2 separate regions of the Homo sapiens genome follow, and region 2 is linked to region 1. Evidence: promoter capture Hi-C in 16 types of primary human blood cells and fetal thymus (Javierre and others, 2016). All regions are on one chromosome and are shown on one strand. Each heading gives the region's core, a stretch centred on a gene start or on the middle of the fragment in contact. The rest is flanking DNA. Distances are from core to core; before and after follow the strand shown.

Evidence for each region. The method cuts DNA at HindIII sites, captures the fragments that hold promoters and counts their contacts. A CHiCAGO score of 5 or more calls a contact.
Region 2: the fragment with the promoter of ZNF764 here is called in contact with the fragment with the promoter of ZNF771 in region 1 in 2 of 17 cell types (megakaryocytes and fetal thymus); the score reaches 5.2 in megakaryocytes.

Annotation. Positions count from the first base shown.
Region 1 is chr16:30,402,811-30,409,787 of GRCh38, forward strand. ZNF771 (zinc finger protein 771) reads left to right here and starts at 4,796. Exons shown (of 3, transcript NM_001142305.2): 1 at 4,796-4,854; 2 at 5,235-5,384. The coding sequence starts at 5,244. RefSeq lists silencers at 4,520-4,699, 4,722-4,931, 6,766-6,855. The HindIII fragment of the contact is 8,204 bases long and covers 3,535-6,977 here.
Region 2 is chr16:30,555,919-30,562,337 of GRCh38, forward strand. ZNF764 (zinc finger protein 764) reads right to left here and starts at 2,456. Exons shown (of 3, transcript NM_001172679.2): 1 at 2,069-2,456; 2 at 1,815-1,928; 3 at 1-189. The coding sequence starts at 2,264. RefSeq lists enhancers at 1,344-1,905, 2,446-2,585, 5,525-5,724, 5,745-5,894. The HindIII fragment of the contact is 20,167 bases long and covers 1-6,419 here.

The sequences.
Region 1 (6,977 bases), core at 3,546-6,045:
CTCAGTGAGACCAGCACGAAATACCTAATACCCCCGAAAGAGTGGTTCACTTACCCCACTCTTCTCCTGCTAGAACACCCTGTTATCCTTTTCTTATATCACTCATACTGTATATTTAGAGATCTATTTTAAATCAGAAGCTTCTTTTTTTTTTTTTTTTGAGACAGAGTCTCACTTTGTCACCCAGGCTGGAGTGCAGCATGCAATATCGGCTCACTGCAGCCTCAACCTCCCAGGTTCAAGTGCTCCTCCTGCCTCAGCCGCACAAGTATCTGGGACTACAGGCACGTGCACTATTATGCTCAGCTAATTTTCTTTTTTTTGGTGATTTTTGTACAGACGGGGTTTCACCACGTTTCCCAGGCTTGTCTCCAACTCCTGAGCTCAAGCAATCCACCTGCCTCAACCTCCCAAGGTGCTAGGATTACAGGTGAGAGCCACCACGCCCAGCCCACAAGCTGCTGCTGCTGCTGCTTCTTCTTCTTCTTCTTCTTCTTCTTCTTCTTCTTCTTCTTCTTCTTCTCCTTTTCTTCTTCTTCCTCTTCCTATTCCTCTTCTTCTTCTTCTTCCTCCTTCTCCGTCTTCTTTTTTTTTTAAGACAGGGTCTTGCTCTGTTGCCCAGGCTGGAGTGCAGTGGCACGATCTCAGCTTACTGCAACCTCCACCTCCTGGGTTCAAGCGATTCTCATGCTTTAGCCTCCCAAATAGCTGGGATTACAGGCGTGTGCCACCATGCCCAGCTAATTTTTGTATTTTTAGTAAAGACAGGGTTTCGCCATGTTGGCCAGACTGGTCTTGAACTCCTGACCTCAAGCGACTACCCACTTTGGACTCCCAAAGTGTTGGTATTACAGGTATGGGCCATTGCTCCTGGCCCCAAAAACTTATTTTTTTTTTTTTTTGAGACAGAGTTTAAGCAATTCTCCTGCCTCAGCCTCCCAAGTAGCTGGGACTATAGACATGCGCTACCACACTAGGCTAATTTTTGTATTTTTAGTAGAGATGGGGTGTTGGCCAGGCTGGTCTCGAACTCCTGACCTCAGGTGATCCACCTGCCTCAGCCTCCCAAAGTGCTGCGATTATAGGTGTGACCACCGCGCATGGCCCAAAAACTTCTTTACTAGACTATGAGATCCTCAAGAACATGAACTAGATCGTATTGCAAGTAGATACCTGTACATGGTTGCAGGGCAAATCGATGGAGCCCTTTACCTTCTTTTTCCAAGTTCCTATTTAAAACAGCAGGAGGCTCCTTCCAGTAGGGACTTTCACTGCCAGAGACAGGCTCCTGGCTGAGTCTCCTCACTGATTCTCTCTTAATCAGAGCGAGATGCTTTGCTTTCGCTAGAGGTTGGGTTCTGGCCAAGTTTACCCTCTGCCTACCTCTCCTCCATCTCCCTTGCTACATTTCCCCTTGTTCACTCCCTTGGATGCTCAGATCCAGCAACACAAGTCTTCTTCCTATTCCTCAAACACACAAGCTTCTGCCTCAAGGCCTCTGCAGTTCAGTCTCAAACACTCTTCTTCCAGATTTTCAAATGGCTAACCCTTTCTCATCATTCAAGGTTCATCTCAAATATTGTATCCAGGCCGGGCGCGGTGGCTCACGCCTATAATCTCAGCAGTTTGGGAGGCCGAAGCAGGTGGATCACTTGAGGTCAGGAGTTCGAGACCAGCCTGGCTCACATAGTGAAACCCCCTTCTCTACTGAAAATACAAAAAATTAGCCAGGCATGGTGGCAGGCACCTGTAATCATAGCTACTCGGGAGGCTGAGGCAGGAGAATTGAACCCGGGAGGCAGAGGTTGCAGTGAGCCAAGATTGCGCCACTGTCCACCAGCCAGGGCGACAGCTGGAGACTCTGTCTCAAACAAACAAACAAAATATTGTATCCAGGCTGGGCATGGTGGCTCATTCCTGTAATCCCAGCACTTTGGGAGGCCAAGGCAGGCAGATCACTTGAGGTCAGGAGTTCAAGACCAGCCTGGCTAACACGGTGAAACCCTGTCTCTACTAAAAATACAAAAAAAATTAGCTGGGCGTGGTGGTGGGCGCCTATAGTCCCAGCTACTTGGGAGGCTGAGGCAGGAGAATGGTGTGAACCTGGGAGGCAGAGCTTGCGGTGAGCCGAGATCGCACCACTGCACTCCAGCCTGGGAGACGGAGCAAGACTCCGCCTCAAAAAAAAAAAAAAATTAGCTGAGTGTATGGCGCGCACCTGTAATCTCAGCTACTCGGGAGGCTGAGGCAGGAGAATCCCTTGAACCCGGGAGGTGGAGGTTGCAGTGAGCTGAGATCATGCCACTGCACTCCAGCCTGGGTGATAGAATGAGACTCCATCTCAAAAAAAAAAAAAAAATTGTATCCTGAGACACCTTCCCTGCCTGCATTAAAGAAGCCCCTGTTACCATAGCTGCTCCCTGTTGGATCATCTTGTCAGATTTGCCCCGTTGCACCTATCATTATCTGATATTATCTTCCTCTTTACATGTGTACATTTGTTTGCACCCTTAGTAGTGTCACAAGAGCCACTATTTTTATCTGTTTTGTTCACTACTACATCCCCCATACCTAGAAGGGTGACGGGTATATAGGACTCAATAAATACCCAGAGAGGCCAGGCGTGGTGGCTCAAGCCTGTAATTCCAGCACTTTGGGAGGCCAAGGTGGGTGGATCACGAGGTCAGGGGTTTGAGACCAGCCTGGCCAAGATGGTGAAACCCCGTCTCTACAAAAAATACAAAAATAGCCCGGTGTGGTGGTGTGTGCCTGTAATCCTAGCTACTTGGGAGGCTGAGGCAGGAGAATCACTTGAACCTGGGAAGCGGAGGTTGCAGTGAGCCTAGACTGTGCTATTGCACTCCAACCTGGGCGACAGAGCAAGACTCCATCTCAAAAAAAAAAAAAAAAAAAAAAAAAAACTCAGAGAATGAATGCAAAGTGGCTTTTGGGGATCCTGTGTGTGAGTATCCAGGCATTTGACCCCTTCTCCCAGCTCTGGGAAAGAGCCAGTTTTATAACTTCATTCCTGAGAGGTAATTTGGTGCAATAGAAGAGCACAAGCTTTGAATCTGCTGCTTGCCAGCTGTGTGACTTTGAGCAAATTACTTAACTTGTCTAAGCTTCCGTTTCTTCTTTTGTCCAATGGAGATATTATTGATCCCAACAGGGCTGTTGTAAAGAGACAACATAGAACTTGTAAGCACTTACTGAATGTTATTTCTGTTTTCCTTCATGATTTCTGAATCTTAGTTGCCCCATTCATAAAATGGGAAAATTAGATATCTGCTTTTTCAAGGGAAGTGGCTGTTTTTCAAAGGAAGTGGCATTTGTTTATTCCACTAAAAAAAAATCTATTTTTATATGAAATATCCCAATTTAATTTTTTTTTTCTTGAGACGGAGTTTCGCTCTTGTTGCCTAGGCTGGAGACCAATGGCATGATCTCGGCTCACTGCAACCACTGCCTCCCCAGTTCAAGCAATTCTCGTGCCTCAGCCTCTCGAGTAGCTGGGATTACAGGCATGCACCACCAAGCTTGGCTAATTTTTGTATTTTTAGTAGAGACGGGGTTTCACCATGTTGGTTAGGCTGGTCTCGAAATCCTGACCTCAAGTGATCCACCGGCCTCCGCCTCCCAAAGTGCTGGGATTACAGGCATGAGCCACCGCGCCCGGCTTTGAAACGATTTTTTTTTTTTTTTTTTTTTTTTTTTTTTGAGACGGAGTCTCGCTCTGTCGCCCAGGCTGGAGCGCAGTGGCGCGATCTCGGCTAACTGCAAGCTCGCCTCCCGGGTTCACGCCATTCTCCTGTCTCAGCCTCCCGAGTAGCTGGCACTACAGGTGCCCGCCACCACGCCCAGCTAATTTTTTGTATTTTGTTTAGTAGAGTCGGGGTTTCACCGTGTTAGCCAGGATGGTCTCTATCTCCTGACCTCGTGATCCGCCCGCCTCGGCCTCCTAAAGTGCTGGGATTACAGGCGTGAGCCGCCGTGCCCGTCCGAAAAGATTTTTTAAAAGTAAAAATACCCTAAGGGCCAAACAAGGTACCCCTGTGGACTGGATTTAGCTTTGGGCTGTTGTTCACCTAGGCTACTGATTGTCAGGGATGCTATGACATCCTTATCGTGTAACTTAGGCAAATCAGTTTACCTCCCTGAACTTCAGTGAGCTCATCTGTAAAATGGATCAGGACCCATCGTTATGCGGATCAAATGAGACCAGGTATGTAAGACGCTGAACAGCGCTGGCGCATGGTAAGCACCCCACGCATGACGCGACAGCGGTAGCTTGGGTGGATGTTGAATTGGTTAGGATGTATTCAAGGATATCCCAGAGGCCAGCGGAATAGGCGAAGCCGAGAAAGATGGAGAAAAGACGGCAGAGGAGATAAAGAGGGAATGGAAGAAGTGAGGAGGCAACAGGGTCCGCCCTCCAGGCGGGGCGCCAGGGAGAGGCCCAGGCCGGGGCGGGAGCGCACGTGGCCTATTTCGGGCGGAGCAGAGGCACTGGGCGCAGCGGAGACCTCCAAGCCGGCCCCAGGAGACGGGCCGCGAGGTTAGGTTGGAACTCGGCGGCAAGGACCTTGAACGCCGGGCTGGGGCGGCTCCAGGTGCTTGGGAGTCGGGGGACTGCGGAGGACGCCAAGTCTGAGCTCGCCGCCCTCTCCGAGCCGTTTGGGCCGGACGCCTGGGTCCTTCGGGCTCCGCCCCAGGGGGTGGGGCTATATGTTCGGACCAATGACCGGCCGTCCCTGCGGTCCCGCCCCCTCCCCGCCCCCGGAGCCGCGGCCTCGCTGAGTGCCCAGCCGCCCGGCGCCCAGGCCTGGGGCACCGCGAGTGCCGAACCTTCGGCTGGTGAGTGCGCACCCCCTCCCCGGGGTTTCCGCCCCGATCCCGCCTCCAGCCCGTGCCCCAGAGCTCCAGGTCGCCGACCCGGGCCCTGGGGAGTGACTCAGCGCAAGGATGGTGGCGACTTGCGGGGGCTGGAGATTCGAACTGTTCAAGGCCTTGAATGCTGGGATGAGTGGGGTGAACGCGAGCCCTCGGAGCTGGTCCCGGGGCTGTGCCAGAGCGTGGGGCCGGGCTGGGGTGGACGGGAGAGGACCAGATTCGGAGACCAGGGCAGGGCGGGAGAAGCCACGGCTGCACTGCCTTGCTGGGCCAGGGCCACGGTGGGCGGGGGGGGGGGTGGGGGGGGGCGGGTCCTGAGCTTCTGATCCAGCTCCCCGCCTCAGGACACCAAGATGCCTGGCGAACAGCAGGCAGAGGAAGAGGAGGAGGAAGAGATGCAGGAGGAGATGGTGCTGCTGGTGAAGGGTGAGGAGGATGAGGGTGAGGAGAAGTATGAGGTGGTGAAACTCAAGATCCCCATGGACAACAAGGAGGTATGTGTCACACACACCCTGGGGCACACTGTCCCCAAACCTGGTCCAGGCCCAGCCTCCCTCAGATAGAAGCCAGGGATCTTGCCCCTACTTTTCCCAGAATCTCGGATCTAAAACCTCAGGATTGGCCCATCCTTCTGCCCTACTGCCTGGGCTTCCATCATACAAAAGTCACGCCTACTGTCCCAGGCTTCCTGCTGGGTGCAGGAGATTAAACTCCGTCCTTGGATCCCCCATGGAGCTTGATGTTAGACTGAAGGGTAACCACACAGTTAGAATCCCGTGTGATGGCTGCAGGTACAGGGGGATGATGAAGCCTAGAAGTGGGAACTTAACTCAGATTTAGAGGTTGGGGAAAGGTCAGGTTAGTTCAACAGCAACAGTAACAATAGCTAACCCTTGCCTAGCATTTTCTATGTGCCAGGCACTGTTCTAAGCACCTCGATTCTATGATGTCGGTAGCATTTATTCCATTTTACAGATGAGGAGACTGAGGCCCAGGGCAGTTTGGTAACTGGCCACAGGTCTCAAAGTAAAAGGATGGCTTATGTGAGACTAGTAGGAGTCTGGGGTCAGAAGTGGGGTGATGGACCCAGTCAGAGGAAATGGCTCTTTTATTATTACTGTTGTTATTGTTTGAGACAGGGTCTCATTCAGTCACCCAAGCTGTAGTGCAGTACAGCTCACTGCAGCCTTGACTTCCCTGGGCTCAGGTGATCCTCCCACCTCAGCCTCCCAAGTAGCTGGGACTACAGGCATGCACCACTACACCTGGCTAATTTTTTTTTGTTTTGTTTTGAGACAGAGTTTCGCTCTGTTGCCCAGGCTGGAGTGCAGTGGCGTGATCTCGGCTCACTGCAGCCTCCACCTCCCGGGTTCAAGTGGTTCTCCTACCTCAGCCTCCCAAGAAGCTGGGATTACAGGCATGCACCACCACGCCCGGCTAATTTTTTGTATTTTCAGTAGAGTTGGGGTTTTGCCATGTTGGCCAGACTGGTCTCAAACTCCTGAGTTCAGGTGATCCTCCCACCTCAGCCTCCCAAAGTGCTGGGATTATAGGTGTGAGCCACCGTATCCAGCCAGAAATGGCCCTTATAGAGGCTCAGACGAGTGAGTAGTGCACTGCAGCAGTGAGGGTGGGTGGTTCGGTCATGCTGTAGTGTGGATGAGTGGGGGTGGTTGGCAGGCCACACAGGGAGTCTGGCTTTTATTCTGAGGGTATTTGAAGGTTTTGAGATCAGAATATGAGTTAAATTTCACCCCCTGGAGACCCTAACTGCCACCAGATACGTTTCCGCTTCTCAGAACCCCAGAGGATTCTGTCTGCCCCCAGCCTGAGCAGCCCTGAGTACCAGCAGAGGGCTTTGGCCCCAGGGACCCAGCTTGCAGGGGCCGGGACTCTGATTCTTCCTGCCCAGGAGCCAGTTCCCAGGGAAAGAATGCTCTGCTGCCCCCTAGTGGGCCTGCTGGGTGCTGGGGGAGGGGACTAGCTCCTTAGGCCTCTGGATAGTCTAATAACTATCTGGTTGTGTTTGTTGCGGGCCCCCTTCGCCCATTATCCAGCTCTGCCTGCCTCTTCTGGCCCTGCGATTG
Region 2 (6,419 bases), core at 1,206-3,705, 150 kb after region 1:
CAGGGGGGTGGGCACAGAGGGAGGGGCGTCCCCGGTGCGGTGCCTTGGACAGCTGCTCCCAACCATAAGGGGGCCCGGCCGAGGGGGCTTGGGGAGACTTCAGCCCAGGAGACCCGGCGGCCACAGGGTCGGGCTTCTCCAGGGCTCCCGTCCCTTCCCTTTGTCTTTCCTTTTTCTTGTTTCTGGAATCTGCTGAGAGATAAAGAGGGGAGAGTTCAGGCTCGGCTCATCCTGGTCCTTGAATCCCACAGCCCGCGTGGACAGGGACAGGCCTGCTGGATCCCCGGCTGCTCCTGGGAGATGGAGGAGTGACACCTGTTCCTCGGCTGCAGAGCCAGACAGAGCCGGGAGGGAGAGAACAGCCCATTCCGCCTCGGGGCTGGGGAAATGTCACGGTGGGGGAAGGGCAGAGATGACATGAACATCTGGGCCTGATCCAGAAGGAGGAACGGACACCTGAGGATGTTCCAGGCAGCAGGAACAGCACCAAGAAAGGCAGAACCAGGAGGGCATGGCCAAGTTCAGTGGGGCTGGATACTCTGCAAAGGCTGAGGGCAAGAAATGAAAGAAAAAAAGGGGGGCGGACGGGGAGAAAGGAACCAGCCTGCAGGTGAACGGCAGGGGTGGGTCCTGAGGTGGAGGTAGAGTCAACAGAGTTTAAGAGACTGGGCGTGGGGGCTCAAGGCGGTAATCCCAGCGCTTTGGGAGGTAGAGAAGGAGGATCAGCCTAGGATTTCAGGACCAGCCTGGGCAACACACCGAGAGCCAAGACCCCCTCTATAAAATATATATATTACATAACAATTTAAAACAATTAGGCCAGACGCAGTGGGTCACTTTGGAAGGCCGAAGCAGGCGAATCGCTTAGCTCCAGGAGTTAAAGACCAGCCTGGGCGACATAGTGAAACCCTGTCTCTACTAAAAATACAAAAAATTGGCTGGGCGCGGTGGCTCACGCCTGTAATCCCAGCACTTTGGGAGGCCGAGGCGGGCAGATCACAAAGTCAGAAGTTCGAGACCAGCCTGGCTAACATGGTGAAACCCCATCTCTACTAAAAACACAAAAACAAAATTAGCCGGGCGTGGTGGCGGGCGCCTGTAGTCCCAGCTACTGGGGAGGCTGAGGCGGGAGAATGGCGTCAACCAGGGAGGCGGAGCTTGCACTGAGCCGAGATGGCGCCACTGCACTCCAGCCTGCGCGACAGAGGAAGACTCTGTCTCAAAAAAAAAAAAAAAAATTAAGCAGGCTTGGTGGCGGGCGCCTGTAATCCCAGCTACTTGGGAGGTTGATACAGGAGAATTACTTGAACCTGGGAGTGGGAGGTTGCAGTGAACTGAGATGGCACCACTGCACTCCAGCCTGGGCAACGGAGTAAAACTCTGTCTAAAAAAAAAAATTACCCAGGCTTCGTGGCGAGCACCTGTACAGTCTTAGCTACTCTGGAGGCCCAGGTGGAAGGACTGCTTAAGCCCGGGAGTTCCAGGCTACAGTGAGCTATGATGCCGCCACTGCACTCAGCCTAGACAACAAAGCGAGACCCTGTCTCTAAAACAAAAACACCAAAAAAAGCCCCCAGAGTGTAGTGACCACGCAGAGGTGAGGACTCAGAGGCGGGTATGGCAGGGCCAGAGCCCCCATCACAGCTCCTTTCTAGGCTGCATCTGGGAGCCACGCAGGGGCTCAGCCTCGTCGTCGCAGTTGAGAAGGCAGTTCAGAGAGGAAACTGCTAAGCAGGTAGCTGGAGGTGGCAGAGGGTACCGGGATGGGACAGGAACAGAGAAGTCCCCATGGGACTGAGCACCCGATACTCCACCTGGGTCCGTTTGTGTCTGACATTTCGCCACCTCCGGATCCTGGGCAGCCGGACCCCACAGTTCGGCCTCCTCCTCCACCCAGGAGATGAGAGCTGGCTTGTTGCCTCCGATTCCTAGGGAAGAAGAACGCAAACCCCACGCTGCGGGGAGGCCACCTGCCCGGCCCCGGGGCCCCCAACTTCACGCGCAGCTCCCAGAGGCGCGGCAGGGCCTGTGGGGGCGCAGGGCTCAGGCGAGCAGGTGGGGCTCTCACCGAGAGCGCTCAGGTGGCCGTAGGTCTCCCGCATCACGTCCCGGTACAGGGCCCTCTGCGCTGGCCGCAAGCAGCCCCACTCCTCCCGGCAGAAGTACACGGCCACGTCCGCGAAGCTCACAGCCCCCGGCTCCCTCCACTCGGGTCCGGCCCCGTTTGGGTCCCGGGGAGGGAGCGGGGCCAGAGGCGGCGCCATGGTAACTGTCAACCCCGACGACGGATCGGCTGCCTCCCCTGGCCTGGCCTGGGCCTGCGGAACCTCCTGCGCCCGAGAAAGCCTCCCCGGCCCGGGCCCAAGGGAAGGAGGGAGGTTACTAGGGCCCCCGAGGGCGCACTAGAGGGCGTGGAAACTAACGGTGCCGATGGCAGCGGGTGTATAATCAGAAATGGAATATGCCCTCATAAAAAATGGCGGCGGCGCGGGTACTCGACCTTTGCCCCTACGCAGTCGTGCCCAAGACAACGCCCCCGGTATCTCCAGTCCGCGTTCTCTCCGTACCCTCATCCAAAATGGCCGCGGTGACTAATACAGAGGCCGGCCTTGAAAACTAGCCGCGCATGTTTAGTCCCCGGCCCGGCGAGGCGGTGCAGCAGAGAGCTCCGCCCCGGCCCGGCGAGGCGGTGCAGCAGAGAGCTCCGCCCCGGTTTGCACGAACAAAAGAGCGCCTCGCGGGAGTGAGCTGGCCTCCCGGCCTTACTGAACTCAGGCATTAGTTTTCGTTTGTGGACCGTTTTATAATCGGGCTCCAGCTCATCACTCTCTCGTTTTGTCCTTGTTATCTCAGAAACAGGGCAACAGCAGTCTCTTCCCAATGTTGAGTGTAAAAAAACCAATGGAGTGGGCGTGGCGCAGTGGCTCACGCTTGTAATCAGCAGTTTGGGAGGCCGAGGCCAGCGGAACAACTGAGGTCAGAAGTTCGAGACCAGCCTCACCAACATGGTGAAACCCCGTCTCCACTAAAAACACACAAAAAAACAGCCAGGTGTGGTGGCGTGCACCTGTAATCCCAGCTACTGGGGAGGCTGAGGCAGGAGTATCGCTTGAACGCGCGAGGCGGAGTTTGCAGTGAGCCGAGATTGCCTCACCGCACTCCAGCCTGGGCGACAGAGCGAAACTCTGTCTCAAAAATAAAAAAGAAAGAAAGAAAGAAAAAGGAGTGGATACAGGAGAACCTCCTCCATCGTAGGCTTGTTGGGGCCTGAAATTCTGGAAGTTTCTAGATGGCGGAGGCAGTGGGGAGAGTAGGGTAAGGTTGAGAAAGTCAGAGGGTCCTCTCTTCTAGGAGCTTCTCCCATGTGCTGCTCAGGACGCCTCCCAATTGCCAGTCTCCCTGTAGCTGCAGCCGGGCTCTCACCTCCCCTCACATCCTGCCCCTGGACAGATGGCCCAAGGCTCCTCTACTCAAATCCAACTCATCCCTTTCTTGCCCCAATCTGCTTCCCCTAGGGTCTTTATCTAGTAAATGTCACCAACTCTCCCCCAGACCTCTCTCTCACTTTCTGATGGTCTATTCTGTGCTCCACGTGACTTCATACATGTCCTGTTGTAGCAGGACAAGCCACAGACAAAACCCCTCAGACACCGAGTTGAAGGAAGGGTTTTATTCGGCTGGGAGCATCGGCAAGACTCACATCTCAAAAACCGACTCCCCGAGTGAGCAATCCCTGTCCCTTTTAAGGGCTCACAACTCTAAGGGGGTCCCCGTGAGAGGGTCGTGATCCATTGAACAAGCAGGGGATATGTGACTGGGTGCTGCAGGCACTGGTAATTAGAACAGGACAGGACAGGACAGGGATTTTCACAGTGCTTTTCTATACAATGTCTGTAATCTATAAATAACAAAACTGATTAGGTCAGAGGTCGATCTTTACCAGGCCCAGGGTGTGGCGCCAGGCTGTCTGCCTGTGGATTCCATTTCTGCCTTTGAGTTTTTACTTCTTCTTTCTTTGGAGGCAGAAATTGGGCGTAAGACAATATGAGGGATGGTCTCCTCCCTTACTGTGTATGGGAGTCAGAGTTGCCTCCAACTGCCTTTTAGCTCTTGGTGGGCTCTTTAGTTGAATGTAGGCCCAGATTGAGAATCGCCTGTAATGCTAACTACTGGGAGGCAAAGGCAGGAGGATCCCTTGAGCCCAAGAGTATGAGATCAGCCTGGGCAAGTTAGTGAAACCCTATCTTCAAAAAATAAAAATAAAAATAAACTAAAGTAAAATAAGAACAAATGAATTGACAGTGGACAAACGAGAAAATTATACCAATTGTATTAGTTTTACATGTACATGGGGATCTTCACAAGAGAGGGAAGTCAGAAAAAGTGCCCAAAGCCAGGTGCTTTTATATTTTTTAGACAAAGAACAATAAAATTTCAGTGGGCAGACGCGGTGGCTCATGCCTGTAATCCCAGCACTTTGGGAGGCCGAGGTGGGCAGATCACTTGAGGTCAGGAAACCCCGTCCTTACTAAAAATTAAAAAAAAAAAGGTAGCTGGGGGTGGTGGTGGGTTCCTGTAATCCCAGCTACTCAGGAGGCTGAGGCAGGAGACTCACTTGAACCTGGGAGGCAGAGGTGGCAGTGAGCCAAGATTGAGCCACTACACTCCAGCCTGGGCGGGAGAGAGACTTCGTTTAAAAAAAAAAGAAGAAGAGGGCCGGCCCGGTGGCTCATGCCTGTAATCCCAGCACTTTGGGAGGCTGAGGTGGCCGGATCACGAGGTCAAGAGATCGAGACCATCCTGGCCAACATGGTGAAACCCCGTCTCTACTGAAAATACAAAAATGAGCCAGGCATGGTGGTGCGTGCCTGTAGTCCCAACTACTTGGGAGGCTGAGGCAGGAGAATAGCTTGAACCCGGGAGGCAGAGGTTGTAGTGAGCCGAGATTGCGCCACTGCACTCCAGCCTGGGCGACAGAGCAAGACTCGGTCTCAAAAATAAAAAATAAAAAATAAAAGAAAGAAAGAATAAAAGAAAAAAGAAATGACAGGACAAAGAAAATTTGGCTAGGGCAGTGAGTAACTAGAATATGTATCAGGGGGTTGTCAAACAGGTACAAGATACAGATGACTTTGTTACGTATGTTTATTCTGGTCCCTTGTGGCTTCTCAGGGCTGTTTTCTTGCCCTGGTACAGAAGGATACTCCCCCAGAGTAAGGTTTCTGGCATGCTCCATGCAGAAGAAACAGGTCGGATTGCTCCTTCTGAAACTACAATTTCTCTGTTTTTAACTCAGAATATATCAGTATACCAGGCTGTGAATGTTTTACAGGAGGTCCAGGGGAGCCCCTGTGGAGGAGCCTGGAGGGAACTTCAGGGAGGGTGATCTGGCGGGAATCTCAGGAAACAGCTCAACCTGCCGCATAAGTGAGGAGAGCCACTTCTTTCCCTTTTCGGGGATCCGGGTGGGGCGGGCGCCGCTGAGCGCGTCTAGGTGGCCGCAGGTCGCGGCATCGCGTCCCGGATCAGGACGCGAACATCCCTATACCGCAGACACCCCCACTGCGCCAGGAAGCGGCAGTCGGCCGTTTCCGCGGAGCTCTCGGTCCTCAGACACTTTCCCAGTCTCCGTCCCTTCCACCTTCCCTGGTTCATTGGCTTGGAGCCATGAGCGCGGCCAGTGGCTCCGCGGCTCCCGGAGGGACGCTGGGGGTTTGCCCTGGGAGTAGGGTGCAGGAGGTTCCACGGACGCCTCGACGACCGGTAGTAGCTTCGGGTGGGGCCTAGAGAGGACGGCGAGCAACTCTGTGGTTCCGGAGTCCAGAAAAATGAAAGCGCTCTTAGAAAAGATGGCTGGCGGCTGGGCACGGTGGCTCACGCCTGTAATCCCAGCACTTTGGGAGGCCGAGGCGGGTGGATCACTTGAGGTGAGGAACTCAAGACCAGCCTGACCAACGTGGTGAAACTCCGTCTCTACTAAAAATACAAAAATTAGCCGGGCATAGTGGCACACGCCTGTAATCCCAGCTACTTGGGAGGCTGAGGCAGGAGAAGCGTGTGAACCCGGGAGGCAGAGGTTGAAGTGAGCTGAGGTCGTGCCACTGCACTCCAGCCTGGGTGACAGAGTGAGATTCTTGTCTCAAAAAAAAAAGAAGAAGAAAAGATGGCTGGCGACAGTCCAGCTTCTCTTCATTTTAGAGAAAGGCATTGAACAGCTTGAATATCGATCCGGTGTTGCTGACCTAGTTTGTTCCTGCTGGAAAAGTCTTCTCTTGCTGTTCCTCCCAGGCGGCCTTGGCAGCGCCTCTTGCCCGTAGTTAAGATGGGTGCGGCCGCTTTGACCTGGGCTCAGGCAGGTGGCAGCAAAGGCTGCAGGGGAGGGGAAACCGGTCCAAGATTCTCGACCGAGGGCCTGACGT